3 separate regions of the Homo sapiens genome follow, and all the other regions are linked to region 2. Evidence: promoter capture Hi-C in 16 types of primary human blood cells and fetal thymus (Javierre and others, 2016). All regions are on one chromosome and are shown on one strand. Each heading gives the region's core, a stretch centred on a gene start or on the middle of the fragment in contact. The rest is flanking DNA. Distances are from core to core; before and after follow the strand shown. Region 1 overlaps DNAAF5 (dynein axonemal assembly factor 5). Region 2 holds the start of PRKAR1B-AS2 (PRKAR1B antisense RNA 2). Region 3 overlaps LOC105375118 (a long non-coding RNA gene).

Evidence for each region. Contacts are between HindIII fragments. The CHiCAGO score rates a contact against its expected background, and 5 or more counts as called.
Region 1: a contact is called between a fragment that was not itself captured here and the fragment with the promoter of PRKAR1B-AS2 in region 2, in 1 of 17 cell types (activated CD4 T cells). The highest score is 5.1, in activated CD4 T cells.
Region 3: a contact is called between a fragment that was not itself captured here and the fragment with the promoter of PRKAR1B-AS2 in region 2, in 1 of 17 cell types (activated CD4 T cells). The highest score is 5.3, in activated CD4 T cells.

Annotation. Positions count from the first base shown.
Region 1 is chr7:773,780-778,139 of GRCh38, forward strand. DNAAF5 (dynein axonemal assembly factor 5) reads left to right here. Exons shown (of 13, transcript NM_017802.4): 10 at 269-419; 11 at 1,227-1,383. Among named protein-coding and RNA genes, the nearest start is that of PRKAR1B, 49 kb to the left of the region's middle. The HindIII fragment of the contact is 760 bases long and covers 1,118-1,877 here.
Region 2 is chr7:560,671-564,984 of GRCh38, forward strand. It overlaps PRKAR1B-AS2 (PRKAR1B antisense RNA 2), which reads left to right and starts at 1,288. Exons shown (of 2, transcript NR_132384.1): 1 at 1,288-1,340. The region is part of intron 9 of PRKAR1B (protein kinase cAMP-dependent type I regulatory subunit beta); the gene reads right to left. The HindIII fragment of the contact is 11,213 bases long and covers 1-3,767 here.
Region 3 is chr7:327,655-332,468 of GRCh38, forward strand. It overlaps LOC105375118 (a long non-coding RNA gene), which reads right to left. Exons shown (of 3, transcript XR_926965.4): 2 at 4,393-4,555; 3 at 1,973-3,709. Among named protein-coding and RNA genes, the nearest start is that of FOXL3-OT1, 39 kb to the left of the region's middle. The HindIII fragment of the contact is 3,993 bases long and covers 1-3,248 here.

The DNA.
Region 1 (4,360 bases), core at 248-2,747, 210 kb after region 2:
TGGCTCGCCTCTGGAGAACAGGACCTACGCGGGCCGCAGGAGAGGCCAGGGGCACAGGCACCCCTGTCTCCCCGGTAGGGTTGGGCCTGGAGGAACCTCCCAATTCGCACTGAGAAGCAGCTCCTGAGAGGAGGAGGGGCCTCGTGTTTTGGGGTCGAGTTCGTTTTCCTGTTTGGCTCCCCCCTCAGCCCCATTCATCCCTAGTCTGAAACGTTTCTTCCGAGCACCTGTCCGGTCTCCTCATCCACCCTCTCCGTTCCGGTTCCAGGCAGTTTCCCAGCTACCTCGAGACGGTGACAAAGGACATCCTGGCCCCCAATCTGCAGTGGCATGCGGGGAGGACAGCCGCGGCCATCCGCACGGCTGCCGTGTCCTGCCTCTGGGCGCTCACCAGCAGCGAGGTCCTGTCGGCAGAGCAGGTACGGGGCTCCCTGCGTGCTCGGTGGACACCGGCCGGGGACTGCGCAGGCTTCCTGGCGCCCGGCAGAGCTCCCGCAGCAGGAACTTGGGCAGGCAGCAGCTGCACCTCCACCTGGGGCCCGTACCCCAAGAGGCTCTCCCCACACTGGCGGCGGAAGGGCAGGAGCCGGCGGCCGGGCTGCGGTTCAGACAGCAGGCGGGAGAGCGGGAGCCAGGCCGCGGGCCCAGCCAGCCCGGTCGTGCTGCGGGTTTTGCAGCCGCTCATGAGCGTGCGGTTTCTCGGTTTCCGGCCCAATGCTGGCTGCAAGACCAGGAGTCGAATCCCAGGATCCAGGCCAGAGGACGGGCCTGGGCTTTCCGCATCGTTTCTATGAACACCTCCGGCTGGTACCAGGTGTCAGAAAACAGACACTGATGCCCGCCCGCGTCCTGGTCGCCGCCCGGCGGGAAGGCGCTGCCCTGGGCGCCCGTGCAGCATCAGCGCCACCTCCTGGTGCACGCGGGGTGGTGCGGTCGGTGCTCCAGCCGAAAGCCCCACGTCCTTGGGGCCCAGGCGAGCCATTACCCTGGTTTAGGGTTAGTGCCTCACCTAGGAGTTGTGAACAGTGTGCGTATTTTCTAAAAATCAAGTAAGCAAGTTAAAAATTGCTCAAAATCTAAATTTTACAATGAAGATTCAAGCCTACTTTTTAGGTAAAGCTTTCAAGCCCCCTAAGTCCTTCCAGGCAGGAGTGCACGGATGGTGAGCACCCCCACCCCACCCCAGGACAGATGTGAGTCACGTCGTATGTGTTTGCTGATTGCAGATACGGGACGTGCAGGAAACACTGATGCCCCAGGTCCTGACCACCCTGGAGGAGGATTCGAAGATGACGCGACTGATCTCATGCCGTATTATCAACACGTTCTTAAAAACCTCGGGCGGCATGACGGATCCAGAGAAACTCATCAGGATTTATCCTGGTAGGACATTTCTGTTGTTCACAGCCTGTGTATATGCAGTCAGCCCTCCGTGTCCCTGGGTTCCGTTTGCATCCATGGAGTCACCCAAACTCAGATCAAAACTATCTCGGGCTGGGTGTGGTGGTTCACACCTTTAATTCCAGCACTTTAGGCAGGAGGGTTGCTTGAGCCCAGGAATTTGAGACCAGCCTGGGCAACATAGCCATACCCCGATCTCAACAAAAAATTTAAAAATTAGCCAGGGCTGGTGGCACACACCTGTAGTCCCAGCTACTCAGGAAGCTGAGGCAGGAGGATCGCTTGAGCCCAGCCTGGGCAACAGACCAAAACCTTGTCTTTAAAAGTAGGGGTGTGTGTGTGTGTGTGTGTGTGTGTGTATGGCTACATATATACATGTTTGTGCATTTATACATACAAATACAAATTTGTACTTACATTTGCATATATAAATATGTATGTATTGGGGGGCAGAATTCCACAGTTCCAAAAAGCAAAGCTTGAATTTGTTGGGCACCAAGTACAACGTTGAACCCGCATGAAGAAAGCATCATGTACACATTGCATTCGGCCTTAAAACAACATTGGACCCTCGTGAAGGAAGCGTCGTGTGGACGTTGCGTTCTGCCTTAAAACAACGTTGAACCCACGTGAAGGAAGCGTCGTGTGGATGTTACATTTAGCGTTAAACGTAATCTAGAGACAGTTTAAGGTGTGCCGGAAGATGTGTGTGGGTCATGTGCAAATACTATGCCTTTTTTTATCAGAGACTTGAGCATTTGAGGATTTTGGTATCCTAGAGGAGGAGGATTCCTGGAACCAAACCCCACAGATACCAAGGGACGACTGTATTTAAGTTTGATGGTGGCTTGTTTTATAGAAAAAAAGCAGAAAACGTGGCCGGGCACGGTGGCTCACGCCTGTAATCCCAGCACTTTGGGAGGCTGAGGCAGGTGGATCACAAAGTCAAGAGATAGAAACCATCCTGGCCAAAATGGTGACCCTGTCTCTACTAAAAATAAAAAAATTAGCTGGACATGGTGGTGCGCGCCTGTAGTTCCAGCTACTCAGGAGGCTGAGGCAAGAGAATCGCTTCAACTCAGGAGGTGGAGGTTGCAGTGAGCCAAGATCGCACCATTGCACTCCAGCCTGGGTGACAGAGCCAGACTCCATCTCAAAAAAAAAAGAAAATAGAAAATGCTCATCTTTGACTTCTGTTCAAGTTGGTACTATGAGAACAAACAGCAATGACAGATGAAATACCACAAATTAAACGGCACAGCAAGAAGCAAGGCAGAGGTCTCCAAACCAGCACTGGGTGGGGGTGACAAGGCTCAGCTTCCACGCGGCCGGGAAGGGGGACCTCAGGGTGGGGCGGCTGGAGCTGCCTGTGGGGAGACGGGGCCGGGCCACCCTGCAGCAGGACCAGGGGCACAGCCTCAGTGTCGCCGCCTCCTGGAGCCCAAACCCCAGACCAACCCCAGGTGAGAGCAAGCACTGGGGAGGGGAATGGGGTGGTTGGCTTGAAGCCCCCGAAAAGCAGCAGCACTGAACAGAGTCATGAATTCAGAGAGCCCCTCACTCAGGGCAGCCTGCACACAAACCCCTCAGGACAGGGCCCCCGCCACCCAGGCCATGGGCCAGTACCTGTCCGGGTCCTGTTAGGAACCAGACTGCACAGCAGGAGGTGAGAGGTGGGCAAGCGAAACTTCATCTGTGTTTACGGCTGCTCCCCATCTTTTGCATTACCACCTGAGCTCTGCCTCCTGTCAGATCGGCAACGGCATTAGATTCTCATAGGAGCACAAATCCTATTGTGAACTGTGCACGCGAGGGATCCAAGCTGACGCTCCTTATGAAACTAATGCCTGATGATCCGTCACTGTCTCCCATCGTCCCCACATGGGACCGTCTAGTTGCAGGAAAACAAGCTCAGGCCCCCACTGATTCTACAGGATGATGAGTTGTAGAATTATCTCATTATATGTTACAATGTAGTCATAGAAATAACGTGTACAATAAACGTAACGCACGTGACTCATCCTGAAACCATCTCACCCCCTGGTCCATGGAAAATTGTCTTCCATGAAACCAGCCCCTGGTGCCAAAAAGGTTGGGGACTGCTACCTCAGAACACCGAAGACCCGGCGCTAAGGGCAGCCTCGCACCCAGCCCGGGAAGGAAGTGCCGATAATAGAACCACCTCAAAGTTACCTTTATTGAGGCGTGTTTAAGATCCTCAAAAAGCTAAAAGAACAACATCCACTAAAAAACAAGTTGAGAAACAAGAAGACAAGCAGGAATAAAGAACAGATGGAAACGGAAGCGATCGCTGGGAAGTCCGGAGTGACACGGAATGGTGTGCTGGCACTACTTTGAGGAAAGGAGTTACCCAGCGAGGGAGAAAGGGGATGGGGTGGGCGGGAAGCGGCCACTCAGGCGTTCCTGATTAGCTCTACTTAATGTGATTATCTATATTTTGTGTATTTATGCCAGAAATGTTTAGCAGTTTTTAAAAGATGGTTCTTGCTAATTCCCGGAAATGAATGGAGTCATCGGAACTTCACACTCTGTGTACTGGGTCAACTCTAGACTGAATGTGGCTGAAAACAAAGTTAGTGACGTGAAAGCCAGGAATGTGGAATTCCTCAAGATCACGAGACAGAGAGGGGTGCAAGGCCTGGAGTGGGCGAAGGACACGGGACGGGGAGGGACGCGGGGCCTGGAGCGGGCAGAGGACACGGGATGGAGAGAGGTGCCGAGTGGGCCGAGAGGCTCCCGGGCTTTTCTGAATCCCAGGAGAAGAGAATGGAGGAGAGATGGTGCCTCAGAATCTTCCAGAACTGGAGACAGACATGAATTTTCAGATTCACAGTACACACGGCGCTGGGCAGAAAAACCGCCGCCTGCTGAACTCTGAGGTCCGGGGGCCTTTGTCACTCATTCTCTCACCTTTGCTTTTCTGTTTTTATTCTTTAGT
Region 2 (4,314 bases), core at 38-2,537:
CAAGGCCCATAGCTGCTCCAGCCTCAGCTGCCTCATCTGTTATATGGGACAACGCCAACCAATGCTACAGAGCGGCGGTGAGGCCAGATTACCCCAGCTCCAGGAGTTCCAGCACGTCAAACGGGACAGTCATCATGAGGGCGGCGGCCATGAGTGAACGTAAGAGTGGACAGACACCAAATGCCTTCTCAGGGCCACGGGGGCCACGACACGTTCCTCCCTCCAGTGAGACTCCTCAGAGCCTGGAAAATTCAGGCTCACTCCAGTGCCTTTACGTTTCCTGTGCACACATTTCCTGCCTGTGTGCTTCTGGACTTAGGCAGAAGCAGAATCCTATACATACACACACACGTGTGAACACACACACATACACACAGATGCATATTTGTGCACGCAAACACCTGCGCACACACACACTGGTACGTGCATACATGCACACACACCCCACACACAGGCACACAAACACACACACACACACACCTGTGCACACACACACGGGTACGTGCATACACACATGCACACACACCCCACACACATGCACACACAGGCACACAAACCTGTGCGCACACACCTAGGCACAAACACACAGGCACACACGCCTGTGCACACACACACACACACATCCACAGAGGATGCAAGCAGCCCCTGCCTCTAAAGCACTCCCAGGTGCTCTGTGATTTCTCCTGAATAAATAAGCCCCATGGATGCATTTTTATGTTTTTTTAAGCAACCGTTGCAATAACTGTTTTTTCCACATGGAAGGCAATTTCACCTGAAGCTCCCTTCCACCCAAATCCCTTCCTGCTCCCTCAGGCGGTGACTCCTCGGAGCGCTCCTGAGCTGCGTGCAGGCTCCGGGTGTCTTGGAGGTGACCGAGCTGTCCCTCTGCCGTTTGTTTCGGGAGGCTGAGCCACTTCCCCGCAATCATCCCCTGCCCGCTCCTCAGGCCCGGCTGGCCGAGACGGAACTGATGTACGTCACACACCCTGGGCTGCAAACTGTCCTCGGGACGACAGCGAAAACACACTTCAGCGGGCGAGCCGCCCAAGGTCAGCTCCTGTGCCAGCGTTTAATGGATCATCCATGAGGTCTGGGGCCCGGCAAAGGCACGGCCCAGCAGCTTCCGTGGGAAACAAGCCGTTCCCGCGGACGTCGGCGCCAGGGCTTGGGGTGGGAACAGGTGCGGGGCTGCGTCCGCCCCCGCCTGCATGCCAGAGTGAGGCAGGCCTGGCCCCGTGTGAGACGAGCCTTTCCTTCTGCAAACCCAGTTATCCCCTCGGTTGTCTCTGCAGCCAGGCACTGTCCGTCCCGGGACCTACGCAGCTGCCATGGAAGCTCCGGTGGGTGCTCCCGGCGCGGCCGGGGGGTGGGGGTGACGAGATGCCTGTGGCTGCGCCAGCAACCACGGTTAGGTGAGAAGCGTGGAAGGAAAGGGGCATGTGGCTGCCCGGGCCTTGCCCTCAATGCCCTTCTGTGGCCCAGTTACTCCCGGCCATCTGTGTGGGAGTCTCTGCAGGTTCCGGGGAACCAGGGCGAGCACAGGCCCCAGGCTACAGAGGCTCCTGCTGCCTGCCAGGCGGGGAGGTGGGGGCAGCCATTCCTGCTCCAGCCCCAGGCACCTCTCAGGGTGGGTGGGTGGGAGTGCTCACTGCCTGTGGTTTGTGTGGCTTCAACCCCAAGCGTCCCAGTGAGGGCCCTGTCGCCTCCAGCTCCACAGGCCCAGCCCAACTCCTCGTCTGCCCCCATTAGGCATCTCTGTCCACAGGACTCCTCCCAGACGACGGCAGACACCTCCCTCGGCCTCACCTCCCAACCAGGGGTCACCAGCACTGAGGATTCTGCCCCCTGCAGAGCCTGGAACGCGTCCCTTCCAGCCCTCTCCACCAGGCCTGCACTCATCACCTGCAGGTGGGCCAAGCCCCGGCCTCCAGGGCCTCTCACACCCTTTCCTCCATTACTGCCCCTCCATCTGCCTGGTCACACCAGGTTCCAGAAAGAGCTCTTAAAGGGTCTCTGTCACACACAGATCACAACCAATCTGCCCATCATAGCTTTGCGGCCAGCAGCATTTCATCTTCCCTCCAGCTGTTCTCTTCCTCCCTGGATCTTCTTTGCAAGGCCATGGGGTCCATGCCCCCCAACCATGACTCCCTCCACCATGCTGACCCCCGGCCAGGATGTCCTGACCCCAGCTGAGATGCCCAGACACCAGCAGAGATGCCCTGACCCTCGCCCGCCATTTCAGCTGTTGCTTTCTCAGCCAAGTCTCAATCTTTGGATGAACAGACATTGAGTCCTTCCAGGTACTGACCAGGGTGCTGGACACCAGAAACCTAACGGGCGCTGATGAAATCTCCACTGTGACTTCACAGCAACCCCAACCCTTCCACACACCAGCACCTCTCATCCCAGGAGAGCCTGGGCCCGGAACTGACACGGCTTCTGCTTCCTGGGATCAAACATGCCCCCAGCCCTCCAGGCAGCCACCAGGGCAGGTGCAGGTGGGCAGGCACCTAGACCCAACCCGGAGCTGATGCCCCGTGCCCTCGGCCCCCACCCTGAGGGTCCTCTGAGAGCACCTGCCAGGTCAGGCTGCAAGTCCGCCCCAGGACCCCCTCCACGGGATACCCCAGTTTTCTTTTCCAATGAGCCTAAAAACCCTCCACAGGCTGCCTCTGCAGACACCATTCCTTAGGCCAGAAGGGAAAGGAAAGGAAGGGGTGCCACTGCTGAGAGCCCAGGCTGTGCACTGTCCACTCAGCAGGCGTCCAACAGCCCCCCGGCTTGGGTGGGCCAAGACCCACAATGTCCCAGCCCCAGGGGGCCCCAAGCTGCTTCAGCCTCTGCAACCTCTGCACGCTGGGTGTGTGTGTGCATGCATGTGTGCACGTGTGAGTGCGTGCACAGGTGTGTGTATGGGTGTGTTATTGTGTGCACAGGTATGTGTATGCACTGTGTGTGTGCATGTGTGCCAGAACAGAAGTCTGTGTGAGCATGTGTGCACGTGTGCATACATGCATGTCTGTGCGGTGTGTGCATGTGTGTGTGTGCATGGGTCTGCTTGGAGTGTGTATGTACGTGTGTGTGCTCAGGTGTGCATGCATGTCTGTATGTACATGTGTGTACGTGTGTGTGCACAGGTGTGCCTGTGTCCATGTGCACACGGATCAGTGTGTGTGCATGGGTTGTGGGTGTGCATGGGTTGTGGGTGTGTATATGTGCATGTGTGCACACGTGTGCATGGGTGAGTATGTGCGTTGGTGTGCATGGGTGCACACTGGCTGATTATGTTCTAAAGAGGCAGAAAGCACTTTCCAGCCTGGCCCGGCTCCAGCCTCCTCCATTGACAATTCAGCAGCCCCCCTCTGCCCGCTCCCCACTTCCCGTTCTGATCCTGGTGTTCCCAAAGGGTCTCCTCCCTCCCTGTTCAGTCTCCCCACAGAGACCATACCCCACGCAGCCACCACCCATCATTCTGGACCTGGCCCTCAGCCCAGTGGGCCCCTCCGGGTCCAGCCAGAGCTGTGGCTCCTGGACACCCCTGTGGGAACCTGAGACTTGGAATCTGGATGGACGGGAGGTGGGGCCAGGGTGGGACACAGGCCGCCGCCCCCAGCGTCAGCCCATCCAGCCTCAGGCCTCCTCCCAGGTCCTCCCGTGGCTCCGTGGCCAGCCTCAACCTCCGCCGCCAGCCTCAACCTCCGCCCTTGCTCCCTCTGGGAGGACTCTGTGTTCCCAGCAATCCTGGCCCTGTCTCCGTGGCTCGAAGCTTTGCACTGCCTTCCAGGCAAGCCTGTGGCTCGGAGCTTTGCACTGCCTTCCAGGCAAGCCCACGTCCTCTCCACGTGGGCAGTCACACACTCAGGTCCCCGCCCCACCGCATTCAGGCCCTCGACTCCAGCCACAGTGACACCTCTGTGCCTCTGCACACAAATGTTCCCTCAGCCTGGAGGGCATTCCTAGGCCTCTTCCCGCAGCATCCCCAGAAACTGCCCAGGGCGCCAGCACTGACTCCGGCAGTGCCCAGATGCATCTATAAATCCTCACAGCTCAGGGGAGGGGGGATCGGCCGGCCAGGACCAACAGGCCCAGGGCCCAGGGCACTGGCCCCCAAAAGCACTTCCAGAGTGAACTCCCGAGACGAACACATCAGCTTTGGAGGGAGGAAGTGTTGCAGGCGGATGCCCCCCAACCTTGCATCTGGGACGGGAGCCCAGGGGTATTTTTCCACCATCCCTGAGTGGAGATTTATTGAGCTGCCCATTCTGGGAGCCACTGTCTGGGAACCCAGGAGTGACAACTGACAGGTGTTCA
Region 3 (4,814 bases), core at 2-2,501, 230 kb before region 2:
CAGAAACCATCTGCGTGACTTGTGGGGTCTGAAGTCACGGGAGGCGTCGGTGTCAGCCTGGTCTCTGGGAACAGGCACGTGCAACCCCGAGCTGTCCAGTTAGCCGTCTGGATGCTCCGAGGCCACCGTGCTGTGAAACTATCGCACGTGGAGAAGCCCTGAGACCATGGGGAGAGAGAGAGATGCCCGCCTGCCCGCCACGGCTCCCAGGCAGAGCCTTGGCTCATTCTAATCTCTCTGCCTGGACCTCTCCTCCCCGCTGTCTCCACGCGGCCGGCCCCTTTGCATTCTTCACCTCTCTGCTCAGATGCCACCTCCCCTTCATATCACCCTCTGTGAGGGAAACGCCGGCCCCATGGTCCCCCACAACTCCCTCCCTCAATGTCCCGTTCATTCCCTCTTGTGGGGTGATGCTGGTCACAATTCACGCTCCCATATTCACTTGCTGACTTGGGTATTGTCTGCTTCCCCAGCCAGAACATGGTTTCCCACACCTGCCTGGTTCTCTGTTGCTTGCCCGGGGTGCCTGGTACGCAGGACACGCTCAGGATCATGGCCCACTGCCCCGCTGCCCGGACAGGTGCGTAGAGGGATGGTGGCCATTCCCCTCCGCCTCTGTTTCTGTTGAAGACTCTCCTACCCAAGGTTTTACCCTTGAAGGAAATCTTTGCCACTTCGTTGGGCCAGTAAAATGTCATTTTTTTTTAAGTACTGGAGAGGAGGGTATGTTTTTCCTGTGTTCATCGTGGGTGTTCCTTTTTTCTCTTAGAAATTGCTTGGCCAGTCCTCTGCCCATGTTCCTGTCGGCCACAGTCCCCTTTCAACCCACCCTGCTGCCACCCGGAAGGCCTGAACGCCAGCGCCCGTGATGACCTCGGTGCCTGCCCCTCACCTGGGGCCGCCCACCTGTCCCCACCCAGGCTGTGTCTTTGTGTCTCTCTATGTCTTTTTCAATCAATTTTGAACAACTTAAAAGCGAGGATTGATTGAATCTTCTACTCTCTTGTCCCTGCAACACCCAACATGGCAGCTTCATTCCGACAATATTGTGAGGACGATATAGAGGCTCAGTAAGCACTTGCTATTTGCTCGGTTGGTTGGTTAACTTCGTTTAGTTTCCCGTAGCTCTGGCCTCAGTTAGCAAAGTTAATGACATTAAATAGCATATTTTAGCAGTAGCAAAAACAACAAACTTCTAGGAATAAGCCTAATAAGAAATATGCAGGACATCGGTCGGGCGTGGTGGCTCACACCTGTAGTCCCAGCACTTTGTGAGGTCGAGGCAGGCGGATCACCTGAGGTCAGGAGTTCAAGACCAACCTGGCCAACATGGTGAAACCCCATCTCTACTAAAAATACAAAAATCATCCGGGCGTGGTGGCATGCGCCTGTAATCCCAGCTACTGGGGAGACTGAGGCAGGAGAATCACTTGAATGAGGGAGGTGGAGGTTGCAGTGAGCCGAGGTTGTGCCACTGCACTCCAGCCTTGGAGACAGAGTGAGACTCCATCTAAAAAAAAAGAAAGAAAGAAAAGAAATATGCAAGACATACATTTAAAAATATTAAAATACTGCAAGCCAAAGTTAACAGATAGCCAACCAACTGAGGAAGAGGTATTAGCAACTCATACGGTAGACAAGATGCTACTTTCCCAAATACATTTAAAAAAACCCTCCTGAAAACAATGAGATAAAGACCAGCAAACTCATCAAAACATGAGTAAAGAACTTAAATGGGCAACTGGCTTTTTTTTTTTTTTTGACAGAGTCTCGCTCTGTCGCCCAGACTGGGGGGCAGTGGACCAATCTCGGCTCACTGCAAGCTCCACCTCCCGGGTTCACACCATTCTCCTGCCTCAGCCTCCCGAGTAGCTGGGACTACATGTTCCCGCCACCACGCCCGGCTAATATTTTGTATTTTTAGTAGAGACGGAGTTTCACCGTGTTAGCCAGGATGGTCTCAATCTCCCAACCTCGTGATCCACCCGTCTTGGCCTCCCAAAGTGCTGGGATTACAGGCGTGAGCCACAGCGCCGGCCGGCAACTGGCATTTTAACACATAGAAAGACACCCAACCACACTGGTAACAAGGAAACACAAATTGAAACTAAATGGAGGTTCCATTTTATGACGGGTCAGACTGGCAAAAAGCAAAATGCCAGGCAACCCTCAATGTTGACAGACTTGTGGGGAAGCAGGCGCTCTCGTACATAGCTGATGAAAGGACAAGTTAGCACAACGTTTATGGCCACGAAGTTGGCAACATCAATAAAAATGTAAATGCATCTGCCCTTTGGCCCGGCAATTCTGCTTATCCTATAGATACCATTGCGCACAGGTGAGGCCGTCTATGTGTGAAATTACTCACTGCAGCATTATTTACAATGGCCTAAAAGCCCGTTGATAAGAGGTTGTTATATAAATCATAATAGATCCATAAAGTGAAACACAACTGTAAGAAAAACGAGGAGGCTGGGCACAGTGGCTCACACCTGCAATCCCAGCACTTCGGGAGGCCTAGGCGGAACGCTGGGCAACATGACGAGACACCGTCTCTACAAAAATAAATTAACCGGGCATGGTGGTGTACACCTGTGCTCCCAGATACTCAAGAGGCTGAGGCGGCAGGATGGCTTCAGCCCAGGACGTTGAGGCTGCAGTGAGCTGTGACCGCATCACTGCACTCCAGCCTGGGCAAAAGAGAAAGACCCTGTCAAAAAACAAAAAAATAAAAAGGAGTCCACTTTTGGCTTCCATCAACCAGGTTGGAGAAAACAAATGACCACATGTGTCTCAATGTGTCAGAGAGTTACCAAGGCAGCCAGGACCTGAAGGCCCAAGACATTGTGGGGGAGGGAAACGCGTTGAGGTGACCCGAACTTCTGCACCCTTTGGGGCAACCGCAAACTCATAACTGGCATGAGCAGAGATGCTGAGAAGCTGAGCAGGGAGGTCTGCTGAGAATCCGAGAAGCTCAGAGGAGCTTTCAACACTGTCGTGCCAGCAGGAAGACGAGAATCAGAGTGCAGGACTGCTCACACAGCCAGGGCTTGGAGAGACAAGATCCCGGGGAGAGGAAAGGATCCCAACAGTCCAGGGTGTCTGTTTGCAAGCAGCACAGGGTGAGCGCAGAGGGGCTGAGCAGAGGCTGCTAGGAATCTAAGCAGAACTGCGGGAGCCCTGCAGTGCCGGAGAGGGAAAGACGGGCTCAGACCTGTCATGCCAGAGGATCCCTCGGAAGCACCTGAAGCTTTCATATGGACCCCTGAAGGACAACCTCTCCTCTCAACTCTAGATTTAAATCCAAGAGGTTTCTTGAGCTTGAAGTCCAGCAGGCATCTCAGCCAGGACATGCTCAGAACAAACTCCCCATTGTCCTCCCTGCACTGCCCTTCCCCACTCCCCACTGGGTCAGCGTGGCCTCATCCCTCTAGCTAGTTAGGCGAGACCCTGGGCTCAGCCCAGACTCTCCTTTCCTCTCATCCCCACGCTGAATCTGTCAGCAACTCTTGTTGGCTTCACCTTCAAAACATACCTGGAATCAGACCCCTTCTCCCCACTTCAGCACCATCCTTTGGCCCAAGCAACCATGTCCTCTCCCCCGTCCCCCGGCACTAGTACCCAAGCCACCATTTCCTTCTTTCTGCATTGGTATAATAGCTGTCCGGCTGGTATCTCAACATCCACTTGGTCCCGAGAGACACACCACCTGCAAAAGTAAAATCATTGTGCTGACACTGACAGCAAAGCCCAAAACCCTTAGAGTGACCCACAGGATCCAACCTTAGAGTGACCCACAAGATCCTATATTATATCCTCTCTCAACTGTTTTTAATGAAACTTTTATTTTAGATTTTATGTTTAGATTTTTTTTTTTTTTTGAGACGAAATTTCACTCTTGTCACCCAGGCTGGAGTGCAATGGCTCAATCTAGGCTCACTGCAACCTCCACCTCCTAGGTTCAAGCAATTCTCCTGCCTCAGCCTCCCGAGTAGCTGGGATTACAGGTGCCTGCCACCATGCCCAACTAATTTTTTTTGTATTTTTAGTAGAGACGGGGTTTCACCATCTTGGCCAGGCTGGTCTTGAACTCTTGACCTCAAGTGATCCACCGGATTTTATGTTTAGATTTACAGCAAACTTGTGGAGATAGCACAGACAGTTAGGTCTACCCTGCACCTGGCTTCCTCCATTCCTGGCATCCTACCCGAGGACAGGGCACTCGTCACATTAAGGATGCAATACTGGCACACCAGCATTAACTAAACTAGACCTTTATTTGGATTTCATTACTTTTTCCCCACTGGGTTCCTTGCGATTTCCAAACCTGCCTGTGACTGAACTATTGGTTAATGAAACTATTTATTTTTTAAAAGTATTTCTTAATCCCACCTGGCCCAGGAGTGGACACAAACCCGTGAGTCAGGTTCCGGGACTCACAGGTCCCCATCTGAGACACATGACGTAGAGAGTGCCGGGGAGGTCAGGCCGCTGCCGCTGTGTGTTTCAGGGTTGGGGGCTGCCCTCCGGGGTGCCAGGAGCTCCTGTGTGTACACTGGGCAGGACAGAGGGCGGGTGGTGAGGTGCTGTGCCTGGGAGCTTGTCCAGGCCCGATGGCTTTTCTGCAGGCTGGCTGAGGAGCTAATTATCGAGGCGGCGGACCGAGGGTGTTTGCCTCTTGACCTTTTGTGATGCCGCCTGTCGAAGCACGCTTGGCCTCTTCCCAGGGGAAATGCTATCCGAAGTGCGAAGTTGCCCACCGCTGGGGTAAGGGGAGAGGGCGCCGCAATCACCCAGCCCTGACCTGGAATGAT